Regions from separate parts of the Homo sapiens genome. Here region 2 is linked to region 1. Evidence: promoter capture Hi-C in human tissues and cell types (Jung and others, 2019). All regions are on one chromosome and are shown on one strand. Each heading gives the region's core, a stretch centred on a gene start or on the middle of the fragment in contact. The rest is flanking DNA. Distances are from core to core; before and after follow the strand shown.

Evidence for each region. Contacts are between HindIII fragments. The study calls those that stand out against the background at their distance.
Region 2: a fragment that was not itself captured here is called in contact with the fragment with the promoter of KCNE3 in region 1 in 2 of the 25 tissues and cell types used here (lymphoblastoid cells and spleen).

The regions. Positions count from the first base shown.
Region 1 is chr11:74,464,603-74,471,180 of GRCh38, forward strand. It overlaps KCNE3 (potassium voltage-gated channel subfamily E regulatory subunit 3), which reads right to left and starts at 2,947. Exons shown (of 3, transcript NM_005472.5): 1 at 2,796-2,947. The HindIII fragment of the contact is 14,037 bases long and covers 1-6,578 here.
Region 2 is chr11:74,385,404-74,392,367 of GRCh38, forward strand. The region is part of intron 1 of PGM2L1 (phosphoglucomutase 2 like 1); the gene reads right to left. Among named protein-coding and RNA genes, the nearest start is that of PGM2L1, 9.5 kb to the right of the region's middle. The HindIII fragment of the contact is 9,021 bases long and covers 229-6,964 here.

The sequences.
Region 1 (6,578 bases), core at 1,697-4,196:
TCCCCAAGGGAATCACCTGCTTAAGGTCTCACAGCTCAGTAGTGGCAGAGTTGGAGCCAGAAACCAAGTATCTTGACTTCCCCTCCACAGACCTTTCCACTATAAGTTCCCTTCTGCCAGTAGGGCAGACTCTAAACTCTTCTGATTACCACTGAAGCTCCTTGAAATGTGACTCTGACACTGGCCTCATCTCCCCACAGCTCTTTTCAGTGGCCTGCACCCATGACACTGAAGTACAGGCCACTCTCCAAATATTCCTTGCACTTGCACATCTCTTGCCTTTGCTCATGCTGTTTTCTTAAACAAGAATGCCCTTCCTCTTTTTACCTGCCTGGCAAACTCCTACTCATCCTTCAAGACCCAACTCCAATTCATCTCTGCAGACCTTCTCCTGGGACTCCTCCTTCCTCACTCCCTAGCCAGTTAGTCTCTCCCTCTTGTTTTTTCCCAAAAGTGCTTTGCACGAAGGCTTATTAGAGCACTATACTGTACTGAAACTCTGTGTGTGTGTGTGTGTGTGTGTATGTGTGTGTGTGTATGTGTATGTGTGTAACTGTGCGCTTTAAGGTAAGAGGGCAGGGTCCTGTGCCTCATACATTTCTTTATTTCCCAGCCCTGATACCTAGCAGGCATTCAAGAATAAATGAATCAATGCCTCTTCTCTAAGAGCATTCCCCCGCTCTGGCACACGCACATACATTCATGAAAACAGTTTACAATATTTAAAAAGCAACCTCCAGGGCAGGGCAAAACAGATTTCATTTGGTCTGGGGAAGGGATGGCTCAAAGAAAAGAAGCCATCTCAGTCAGGTGGGGTGAGTCAGAGGAGGAAGAATTCTAAGCCTTCTTTGGAAGCCCAGATGCTCCCTGCACCTGGACCCCATTCAATCCAAAGGGCAAACATTCTTGGCCTCAAAACACCAGCAATGGCTTTGCAACCCTCTTCCCTGTGTACCTACCCAGGGTGTGGCCACATACACCCACCCACTGCACACACACACACAGTCCAACTCCCCAGTCCCTCAGCCTGTGATCTTGCCGTTCAAGTGTTCCTTTCATGATTCTAATCTTGGCTGTATGCTTGGCTCTGTGTCCTTGAGCACTGCATTTACTTCCTCTGAACCTCATCTATAAGATGGGGATAATGATCCCTGCCCTGCCTACCACACATGAGAACTAGAGGAGACAAGAGATGGGAATGTTTTAGAAATTGCAAACATACAAGATAATTATCAGGCAGGCTGGTCACACTGTTTTCCTTTTCTGTCTCCACATCTTTCCTTTCCCCCCATATTACCAAGAACAACCATCTCTGTGTCTCCTTTCCCACTCCAGGTCTCCTAGCCTCAGAAGCAGCCAGGAGGTTCTTATTATTCTTCTTGATTCCCAGGAACCTCACCTTCTCCAGAAGCCTTCCTGTTTCCTACCCTCTATGATCATTCCCGCAGTCCCTTATCATTGAGGGGTACCATTCTGTAGTCCTGTAGCTGGTGGAGAACACATCAGAGGGGGAATCAGGAGACCTGGGTTCCTGCCCCTACTAGGCCAACACGTCTAGCCGTGCGTTTTGGTTAAGTAACTTTATCACTCTAAGTCTATATCCCTCTAGGCCTCATTTTCCTCATCAGTAAGATGGAGTTTCTTGTCTTGCTTCCCTCTTAGAAGGTATTTTGAGCACTCGCACATTAAGTTTATGGATGTGCTTTGAGACGTATAGACTGAGTGAGGGATGGAGAAGGTGATGGTTATCATCTCAAGGAGTCAAGAAAATCTGAAAGCAGCTTCTAGGCCCCCAGCATGGGTCTTCCTCCATCAGGAACAGACAAAGTGGACGGATGCAAGGAAATAAGGAGGAGCTCACACGTTTACAACATGCCTTTGTAGGTGAAGTGGAGAGAGCCCTGGGCTAGGACTGAGGAAACTTGGGTTCTAATTCTGTTTGGTCTCTGTTGTAACCTTAGGTAAATCATCTCCCCTGGGGCATCAGTTTCCCTATATGCAAATTAGTGGAGAGGATTTTAGGAGGGATACTCTGGTGGGCTTTCACGCAAGAACTAAACTCATTTATTTTCGAGATAAGAGACTCTGAGGTCCAATCCCCCTTTCCCCTTCTGTCCCATGGGGTATGCAGGCAACAGGAGCAGGAGGCCCGTTTTACAAATGGTGGCCCAGGAAAAGCGAGCACAAGGCGCAGAGCTGAGGGATGACTGCCCGGGTTTACACAGCCTGTAAACTAGAACTCAAGTCTCCCGACTCCCAGCCTCGACCTATGTTACTGGCAGCAGAAGATGCTTTTGGGAGTCACCAGGTTTCCCGGGACTAGGTCAGACAGGGTGAAGGACACAGTGAGGTGTAGAGGGAATGGGCAAGTCAGCTCCGCAGAGCCGGTGGCTCCAGCCAAATGAGACTGTGCTGGGTCCTGAAATGTCGTTTCTGCGTGTGCACTGGCTGCCAGCTGCAAGTGTTCGCTTGCACGTCTGTGGGTGTGGAGGAACTTTTCTTGTGGCCGTCTTGAGGGCTGGGAATAACGGCGCAAGTCCCCACGGTTTCCAGACGGGGCGCGCAGAGCCCAGCTCCCTACTCCCACATGCTGCTCCACGATCACTGCGCTCGGGAGGATCGGGGAGGATCCGGGAGGACTAGCTTGGTATTTGCAGCGCCCACCCCTCCCCCACTCCCCCTCGGTTCCACAGTCTCACGGAGAGCGCGCCGTGGCCCTTGGAAGGGAGGCGGGAAGACCCCTCATTTCCACCCCAGGCCGCAGCTCAGCCTTCCCAGCTGGGTGGGTGCCTTACCTGCCTCTCAGCAAGGCTCCGGGGCGCCCGTTTGCTCGCTGGACACGGCGCCCTCTGACCGAGGGTGGCCCAAGCGCTGCGACCCTGTGCATTCCACCAGCCCCGTTCCACTCCGCGGGTGCCCAGCACCGCCCAGCGCGCTCTCTGGCTCTGGGCTCCCACCCGCGCTCGGCTCCCTTTTCCCTCCCCCGGGCGTCCCCTCCCCCTGCCCCGCCCGGGCCCCAGCACACCCACTTCTCCCCGGGCTGGCCTGGAGTGCCTCCGCCCAGCTCCTTGGCCTCCCCCGGCTGTGGGCTCCGACCCTTCCGTCCCCTGCAGCGCCTGCTTCCTGGACCAGAGACCGAAAGCCTCTCGCTCCGCTGGGCCTCAGCAAGCCCAGCATGAGGCCGATCTCCAGGAGTCGGTTTTGCTCCAGTGTGGCTGTGTGGTGGTGGGCGAGTCGCTGCCCCTCACTGGGCCTTGGCCTGGCTGTAAAGTTGGTACAGTTCCTCCATGCATTCTTCACAGGCTTATGGTTGAGGTCAGATGAGACCTTTGAGTCCAAAGTATTAAAACCAAAGGGTCAACAGCAAAATAATATGATTCTTACACAAACTCTTTTCCACACAGGACGCAGAGGCCCAGTTGGAGAAGGGATTTGCCCAGGTAGCAGAGCCCAGACCCAAAATCCACTACACACCCCTCTGTCTCTGAGTAGCACCAGCAAATGTTTCCTCCACCAAGCCTCAAAAGTTCGTGACAGTGCCTGACCAACTTGTGTTCAGCCGCACCTTACTCATCTCTGTCCCAGAACAGTTTATTTTCCCACCACCATGCCCTCACTCAAACTGTTGTTTCCTTGCTGGTGACATTGCAGGCTTCAGAGAACTGGGGCAGCCGGGGCAGCTGAGGAATAAGAGCCAGGAGGCTAGTGGCAGAGGAAGGGACAGTTGCAGAGAATTTCTCCGGGGGACCCTGTGGGGTGCCCTTTTACCAGCTCACTGCCTCAGAATAATTAATAACAGCCTCAGGCCAGCTCTTTCACTCCCTTGCAAAGGTCTGCTCCAGGATATCTGAAGCACATACTCTCAATTACAGAATCCCAGAATATATCTAAGAAGTGCTATCGTTTTAAAAAGACCTACTACAAGGTGGGTATATTGTATATTGTATACAATATACAAGGTGGGTATATTGTACCCACCTTGTTTTGACCCTACTATTCCTTTTTCTCAGTCTGGAGATCACCTCTCAGAAAAGTCATCCTAATCACCTAAGCATGCAATCTCAGTTTCCTTCCTTCCTTCCTTTCTTTCTTCCTTCCTTCCTTCCTTCCTTCCTTCCTTCCTTCCTTTAGACAGGATCTCACTGTGTCACCCAGGCTGGAGTGCAGTGGAGTGATTATGGCTCACAGCAGCCTTGAACTCCTGGGCTCAGGTGATCCTCCTCCCTTAACCTCCTGAGTAACTGGGACACACCACTATGTCTGGCTAATTTTTGTATTTTATAGAAATTGGGTTACTCCATGTTGCCCAGGCTGATCTCGAACTCCTGGGCTCAAGTGACCTGCACACCTCCACCTCCCAAAGTTCTGGGATTACAGGCATGAACCACTGTGCCCATCCTGCAACCTCAGTTTTCAATCTGCCTAAGAATCCCCTGGGGAGCTTGTTTTACTAAGTAGACTTTTGGGCTCCACTCCAGAGGTTCTAATTCAGGAAATCTGGAGTAGAGCCTAGAAATCAGCATTTTCAAACAAGATTTCCAAATGACTCTGATGCAAATGGTTCTTGAGACTAGCCATGAGGAAGCAGTCCTGGCTTGGTCAGGGTTCTTTCTCAGATCCTGCCCACGGCCTTGCATTTACTCTGTAGGACTGTCTATGACAGTTATAGAAAGTAACCATTTGTCCACCCCATCTGCTAGGTTGTGAGTTCTTTGAAGATAGGGATTGTCTTTTGTTCTAATAAAATCTTAGAACCAAAGTCTTAGAATCATATCATCTTAGGGTTCTGGAATGTAAATTGGAAGAACTCTCAAGAGTTTCCTAGTCAAATCCCTCATGAGCCTAACAGATTCTCCCATTTCTTTATTTTTGGAAACATATCACCCAGGCTGGAGTGCAGTGGTGTGATCTCAGCTTACTGCAAACTCTGCCTCCCAGGTTCAAACAATTCTTGTGCCTCAGCCTCCTGAGTAGCTGGAATTACAGGTGTACCACCACACCCAGCTAATTTTTGTATTTTTAGTAGAGACGGGGTTTTGCCATGTTAGCCAGGCTGGTCTCGAACACTTGACCTCAAGTAATCTGCCCGCCTTGGCCTCCCGAAGTGTTGGGATTACAGGTGTGAGCCACCACACTCTGCCTCTATTTCATTTTTGAAATGAGGCTATCCAGCTTCTCTTGCACACCTCTAGGGAGCTCAATGCCTGCAAGGCAGCCAGACAGCTCTGATTGTTAGGATGTTCTCACATTTTAACAAAAACTGCTTCCTGTTGACTTCTACCCTTTGGTCCTTGCACCCATTGGAGACATGAAATAGAAGTCTGATCTGTGTTCCCTTTTACAGTCTTTCAAGAATTTAAGGTCGGCCAGGAGCAGTGGCTCATGCCTGTAATCCCAACACTTTGGGAGGCTGAGGTGGGTGGATCACTTGAGCTCAGGAGTTCAAGACCAACCTGGATAACATAGTGGGACTTCATTTCTACAAAAAATAAAAAAATTAGTTGGGCATGATGCTATGTGCCTGTAGTACCAGCTACTTGAGAGGCTGAGGTGGGAGGATTGCTTGAGCCCAGGAGGTTGAGGCTGCAGTGAGCCAAGATTGTGCCACTGCACTCACTACAGCCTAGACAACAAAGTGAGACCCTATCTCAAGAAAAAAAAAATTTGCTGGGCGTGGTGACTCACGTCTGTAATCCCAGCACTTTGGGAGGTGGCGGATCACGACGTCAGGAGTTCAAGACCAGCTTGCTCAATATGGTGAAACTCCGTCTCTACTAAAGATTAAAAAAAAAAAATTAGCTGGGTGTGGTGGCATGCACCTGTAATCCCAGCTACTTGGGAAGCTGAGGCAGAAGAATCGCCTGAACCTGGGAGGCAGAGGTTGCAGTGAGCTGAGATTGCGCCACTGCACTCCAGCCTGGGTGACAGAGCAAGACTCTGTCTCAAAGAAAAAAAAAAAAAGAATTTAAGGTCTATCCTCTACTCCCCCTTCTCTGGGGTGAGGATAAGGCAGCAACCATGTCAGGGAAGGCAGCTGGCCATTGGAAAGGGGGCTGAGCTGCCTCATGTTCCCCACCTGTGCCCTGGAGCCTTGCCAGCAGGCTTAGATGAAGTGATGCGTTTAATATGCCTGGAGCCGGGCCTAGCATGAGGCATAGGCTTAATAAATGGCAGCTTCTATTGTCACTGGATGAGAAAGAGCAGGAGGAAACAGAGTTCCTGTCTCTGGGGATCTCTAGTCTGACAGGGACTTCAAGGAGCTCCCTAATCCAAAGACATTGGAGACATGGCCCTGACCCTGGGAAGATGGGGGAGTGGGGTGGATGGAATTTGAGGGTAGGATGAGCTGATTGAAGGGATGAGGGGAAGACTCACCTAGAGACATGCCACAAACAAGTCTTGGCTTAAATGTTACCTTCTTGGTGAGGCCTTCCCTGAGCATCCAATCTATAAATGCTAATTCCTCCCTTCTCCTGCCTCCCTACCTCCATCCCCTGCCTTGTTTTTCAGTAACACCTTAACAGATGATTCTGATATATTTCACTTACTTAAAAAAAAAAGTCTTTTGTTGTTGTTCT
Region 2 (6,964 bases), core at 3,489-5,988, 77 kb before region 1:
CATGTATCTTGTAGTTCTTGGACAATTTAAGGGTTTACAAGGGTGATTTTAAAATTTTATACCATTATCATTATTTATTGACTTTGGAATCTAACTCCTAAGTAAGACAAGACTCCATTATACCAGAAATGTTCTCATACGGAAGTTGCCTATTTGGGATACTACAGAACATGTTTTTATTCTGAGTAGGAGCTTAAATAAGATAATATCTATATTTCTGTCAACTGAGATTCCATAGTTTTATGCTTAATTTAACGTATACTCAGACAAAAGATTCATGGCTTGATGTTTAATGCATATTTTGAAATGGCGAAAATACTACCAACAGGAGAACCCTGCCCATCAGCATAAAAACCACCAAGAAAGGAAACAATAATATGCTTTTTCTTTTTCAATAAAGCCCAAATTCCATATTCTTCTGAAATTAGGCTACAATTATGGTCTGACAGCATTTCCCAGAAGTTAAATATCTCTGTATCATGTATATGTCATCTTTACATGTTATAGAAATAATCTAAGGGAAAAAATTATATGCAAAATGATGCTGTCAGCATTATTCAAAATAGTTTTTAAAAATCAGAATACTTTAAGACATCCAGCAAAAAGGAAATGGTTAAATATGATATATTTACCAAGTGAAATACTATGCTGTCAATAAAATTATAATTATGTTCTACGTGATAAAAATTACATATATAAATTCAAAAGACAAACTGAGAAAAAAACATTTGTAATACATGATACATCAAAGACTTATTTCTTTGGCATTAAAACAGGAGAAAAGATTAATAACTCAATAGAAAAGCTAGCAAAAGATATGAATAGTTCATAGAAAAGGAAATACAGCTATCTTTTAAGTATATGAAAATATACAACCTCACTTATAAGAAAAATGGAAATTAAAGCTAAAATAAAATATAGTTTTTATTTTTCACAATGGCAAAGAAAAATATTTGATACTGCATGGTAGAGTCAAGAATTTGAGAAAGCAGGCACTTTTATATATTATTGGTAGAATAATACATTGGTGCACACTCTCTGTAAGGCAATTTGGCAATATCTGTCAAAAAAAAAAACTTTTTTTTTTTTTGAGGTAGGGTCCCACTCTGTCACCCAGGCTGGAGTGCAGTGGTGCCATCACAGCTCACTGCAGCCTCAACCTCCCAGGCTCAAGCAATCTTCCCACCTAAGCCTCCCAAGTAGCTGAGACTATAGGCACATGCCACCATGCCCACCTAATTTTATTTACTTTTTGTAGAGATGAGGTCTCCCTATTTTGCCCAGGCTGGTCTCAAACTCTGGGGCTCAAGCAATCCTCCTGCCCTGGCCTCCCAAAATGCTGGGATTACAGGCATGAGCCACCACACCCAGCCTCCCACAGTTATCTTCATTTAAGTGAAAAACAAAATGATATTTTAACTGAAAAAGAAAATCAAACAAAACCCTAGTATTCCTAGATATGCCTTGGTTACTTTGAGGAAAGGAAGAAGGGAGGAAAATGGAATCAGAGAGGTGGGCATGTGAATTTAAATTATAATTTCTTTCTTTTAAAAGATGTGATTCAAAGTTAGCAAAATATATGATTTAACGAAATGGGAACTATCATTTTCTGTCTTTTTAAAAAGAAGACAGAGATCAATTTGCTAGTGAGTCTTATGGCTTCTTTTCCTGATTTTCTCACAAAGCAAACATCCTTATGTAAAACTTTTATATCTACATTTCTATGAGAGTTTCCAGGATCCCCTCCACAACTCCATTCCATCTCATCCTAATTACATGCTGCAGCCAGATTAATCAGCCAAGAATCAGCAATAGAGTTCAATTCTCATTACATCAAATGTAAAAATTAGAAAGGTTGGGGTCAGATCCCAAAGGGCAAAGGAGTTTGAAACCTTCTTGGATTCAAATAGTCCCCTCTCTCTACACTTCTCTGAGCCTGGGTTTGTGCATAGGCTTAAAAAAATGGAAATAACTACCTCAAACAATCCTTGGGAGAATTAAGAGACTTTCTACATGAAAGCATCTAGTAAGTACCATGTCTGGTACATGATCACTCATAAACACTAGTTTTCCTTCACCTATACTTACTCACCATAGTAGCACAATACATACGCTATACTTAAGAAATCTGTTCATGGTTTCTGCATGCCTCCTGCTCAGTTTCATTTCCCTGATCAGTGTCATTTTCCATTTTATGATTCTACTGTGCCCATTTTAAATTTTTGCCCCATATCCATTATCTATTTGTATCCTACTTACCCTTCAAGTCCCAGCTCAAATTCTACCTCTTACAAAAAATCTTCCTGACTTTGAACTCCTATTGCCCTTAAAAGCCAATGTCAGACAGTTAACCACTTAATTTTTATTTATATTTTAAATTTTACTTTATTATGAATTACAGTAACACATTTCTCTTATTTTAAAAATACTAATAATACAGATAAAGCTGCAGACATCATTGACCATTACTTTCATTCCCAGACCCCACCTTTAGAGGTGCCGCTTACAGCTTGTAATACATTCTTCCAGACCTTTACTACACATCTACATACTTGTAAAATGCAGTTTTGCTTTAACTCTTTTTTTACATATATGGCATCAAATTGTACATGTTGTTCTATAACTTGCTTATTTCATGTATATCTTGCACAGAGGGCCAAATACTGCATGATTTCACTTATATGAGGTATCTAAAATAGTCAAATTCATAGAATTAAAGAGTGGAATGATGGTTGCCAGATGCTGGAAGGGAAGGAGGAATGGAGAGTTGCTAAGCAAGAGGCATAAAGTTGCAGTTAAGCCAGATGAATTCATTATAGAGATATGCTGTGCAGCACTGTACCTACAGTTAACCATACTATATTGAATACTGGAAAATCTGTTAAGAGGGTAAATCTCATGCTAAGTGTTCTTAATATGATAAAATAAAATTAAAAAAAATATAAACCTATACACCTATGTATCTATATCTCTCTTTATATCTATATATCTTGGAGGTCCTTTTAATACATATAGAGCCATGCTATTCTTTTCACTCCAGAGTGTTCCAGTTTATGTCACCATTTATTTATTCATGGACACTTAGGCTTTTCCCTCATTTTTACCTATATAAATAATGAAATATTTCAGAGAGAAAATGACGTGAAAAAATTCTGAAGCAGAAACACAACATAAAACCATTACTTACGTTAAAGAGGTTTTCTAACAAGGTAGACATTAAAATGTCTTTGAATCAGAGAGATATGGTATTTTTCATTTACCATATTATAGTCTTCATACTCTTTAAGGCATTAAATATGACCATTTCCATTGTTTTGTTTGGTAAGATACACTCCTCATTAAATGACTTGGTGTAAAAGATCTCATGAGGATTGGTGACACTATCTCACTGCCTTCCTGTCTATTCTTCACCAGCATAGAACATTTTCTCCATTAACTCCCGATACTAGAGGGCAGCAGCCTCAGTACTAATTAGTAGTAATGCAGACCACAGTTGACTAATGAAAACAATACTCCTTCAGTAAAATCTGCACTAAATTACTAATCAACCTTTTATTTTGAGGGAAAATATTTCTAAAAAGCCAAACAGACATAAATTAGGTAAAAACAGGTTTCTCCATGAGACAAGCCAATTGTGCTGTCTCTCCAAAAGGAAGGATGAAAGAATTCTGATTTAGATTATCCAGGGATTATCATTGAAATCTAAGCTAATGTAACCAGGTGTGATGGCTTGTGCCTGTAGTCCCAGCCACTCCGGAAACTGAGGTGGGAGGATCACTTGAGCCCAGGAGGCTGCAGTGAGCTATGATCACACTGCACTCTAGCCTAGGTGACAGGGTGAGACCCTGTTTCTCTACAAAACAAAACAAAACAAAAACCCTGAGCTAATGAAATATAATAAGATGTATATTCTTTTGTTAATTCAATGTATCTCACAAGTAAAACCTGGAAGAATCAAATGATGATAAATTCCTTTTTATTAGATTATCCATATTCTTTGATTTTTTTAAATAAGAGGAGAGGAAGAGACAGGAAAAATACTTTTTTAAAAATTTATTTTTTTTGAGATGGAGTCTCGCTCTGTCACCCAGGCTGGAGTGCAGTGGCGCGATCTTGGCTCACTGCAGCCTCCGCCTCCCGGGTTCCAGTGATTCTCCTGCCTGTCTCCTGGGTAGCTGGGATTACAGGCAAGTGCCATCACGCCCAGCTAATTTTTTGTATTTTTAACAGAGATGGGGGTTTCACCATGTTGGCCAGGCTGGTCTCGAACTCCTGACCTCAGGTGATCCGCCTGCCTTGGCCTCCCAAAGTGCTAGGATTACAGACGTGAGCCACTGCGCCCGACCGGGAAAATAATTTTAGATCAAAGACATATCCGAATAGGTTTCTAACGGCCTTGTAGAAAACTTGAAGGAACTGGCCGGGTGCGGTGGCTCACGCCTGTAATCCCAGCACTTTGTGAGGCCGAGGCGGGCGGATCACGAGGTCAGGATATCGAGACCATCCTGGCTAACATGGTGAAACCCCGTCCCTACTAAAAATACAAAAAAAAAAAAAAAAAAAAAATTAGCCAGGCGTGGTGACGGGCGCCTGTAGTCCCAGCTACTCGGGAGGCTGAGGCAGGAGAATGGCGTGAACCCGGGAGGCAGAGCTTGCAGTGAGCCGAGATTGCGCCACTGCACTCCAGCCTGGGCGACAGAGCGAGACTCCGTCTCAAAAAAAAAAAAAGAAAACTTGAAGGAAGTAAACAAACAGCTTTTATGAAAGAAAAAAAAAAAAACAGGGCAAAGAAGTCCCCCAAATAACAAACAGAAGTGCTAGTCTACCTATTTTGAAAACTGTCAGGTGAGACAGGAAGAGCTTTCAAATATGAATCACTCCTTTTCAAATATATCTATGGAAAAATTACTACACTGTGTAGTTTTTCCACACCATCTTCTTTCAGTAAGCAATCTACATTTAAGGTTTCTTCATCTTTTCACAGCTTGATAGCTCATCTCTTTTTGTGGCTTGACAGCTAATTTGTTTTAATCACTGAATAATATTTGATATGCAACAGTTTGCTTATTCATTCACCTATTGAAGGACATCTTAGCTGTTTTCAGTTTCAAGTACATTTTTAATTTGAAGAAATAAAAGTATAAAGATTTTTGGGTCAAGATGAAAGACTTAAACACTTGTCTCCCCTCCCTGAGAACTTATTACAGTGATAGTAAAGGAACGAAAGGACTAAACCTACAATGTAAAAAGAACTGGAGGAAGGGATCAGTGGGTACTGAAGAGTAGATGCAATTTCCACGTACAAAAAGTAGCATGAAACAAAGTGCAATAAGCCCAAACCCAAAATAACTTGATAACATGTACATTTTGTTCTATAATCAAAATGAAATCTTGTCTTCAACATGGATGAACTATGAAGACATTATGCTAAGTGAAATAAGCTAGTCATAGAAAGACAAATATTGTATGATGCCACTTATATGAGGTACCTAGATTAGTCAAATTCATAGAAACAGAAAGCAGAATGGTGGGTGCTAGAGGCTTAGGGGACGAAGAAATGGGGAGTTATTTAATGGGTACAGAAATTCAGTTTAGCAAGATGAAAAAGTTCTGGAGATCTGTTTTTCTTTCCTTAAGATCCATCAATTAATTGTTCAAAATGATGCCCCATTTTAGTTGGCTTCATTTTTAGACCATAACTTAACTTACTCAGCTTTGTCTTTCCTTGCTTATTTGGGTCCTTCATTCTTTCCTTCCCTCCCTCCCTTCCTACTTTCTTCCTGTTTTCCTCCTCCCTCCCTCCCTTCCTTGGGTAACTGCTTTTTCTTTTCTGTTCTTTTTTTTTTTAATGTTGTTGACCAGAAACAACACGCCATCTTCACCATATTACTAACATCTTCCAGCTTTTTACTATTTATGGCATAGATGCTGAATTCTTTTTCAAGATATATTTCTGGAACCCCAGTGTGGATCAGTACACTATTTTCATCTAGGATTTCTTTACATTGGATTTCTGGGGAAGTTACTCCACATCAACTTCCTCATATTTCCTATTTCCTTTTGCTATGTTTCCTCAACTTTAACGTCTATATTTTCTATTGCATTTGGCAGGGGTGGGGTGTAACGTTTTTTTCTTAATTTCCAAGAGCTCATTATTGTTTCCTGTTCCTTTTTCATAGCATATTTCCTTATTTGATGGAATAATTGTCTTATTTAATCAAAAAACATTAAGTTCTTGTGTTCCCTGACTTAACTCAGTTTTTTTCCTGTATCCATTGCTTTACTTATTTTTCATGCAGCTTATTTCCTTTTTATAGTTTGATCGTTAGTTAGTTATTAACATCAATAGATTTTTAGCCGCTGGTACCCAACATTCTGTTTTCTGTTTCTGTGTATTTGACTACGCTAGGTACCTTATATAAGCTGGTATGGGTTTTCTCTGTTTTCATGTATACAATATGTTTTCTGCCAGTCTCCTCTTAAATAGAATGGCCAGTTGGAAGCCCTGTTTGTTAGTTGCACTTATTGTCCTGCAAACTTTGCTAGCATTAATTATATTGTTTAAACTTTTGAAATAACTAATGCTAATAGCATAACTATCAAAATTTAGGAGACATAGAGAATAGTGAGTGAATTCCCATTTTTTATAGCACAGGGATATATTTGACAGATAATATCTAAAGCTTTAAAATACATCAAGAAATAGTGCTTCTAGTATATTACTTAGTCTTTTCATGGTAACCACAAAAATAACTAAAAAGAAACTTAAAATGACTTATAAGGAGCAAACTGAGGAAAAGAAGAGGCAGTTAGGATCATTGTTTTCCATTATAATCCCTTCTGTACTATTTTTTAAAATCATAAGCATGTATTTCTTCAAAAAAAATAAATTGCAAATAAAATGATGAAAACAGGAGAAAATGTAGGAAATTTGGAAGTATAAAGAAAAAAATGAATTTGAATT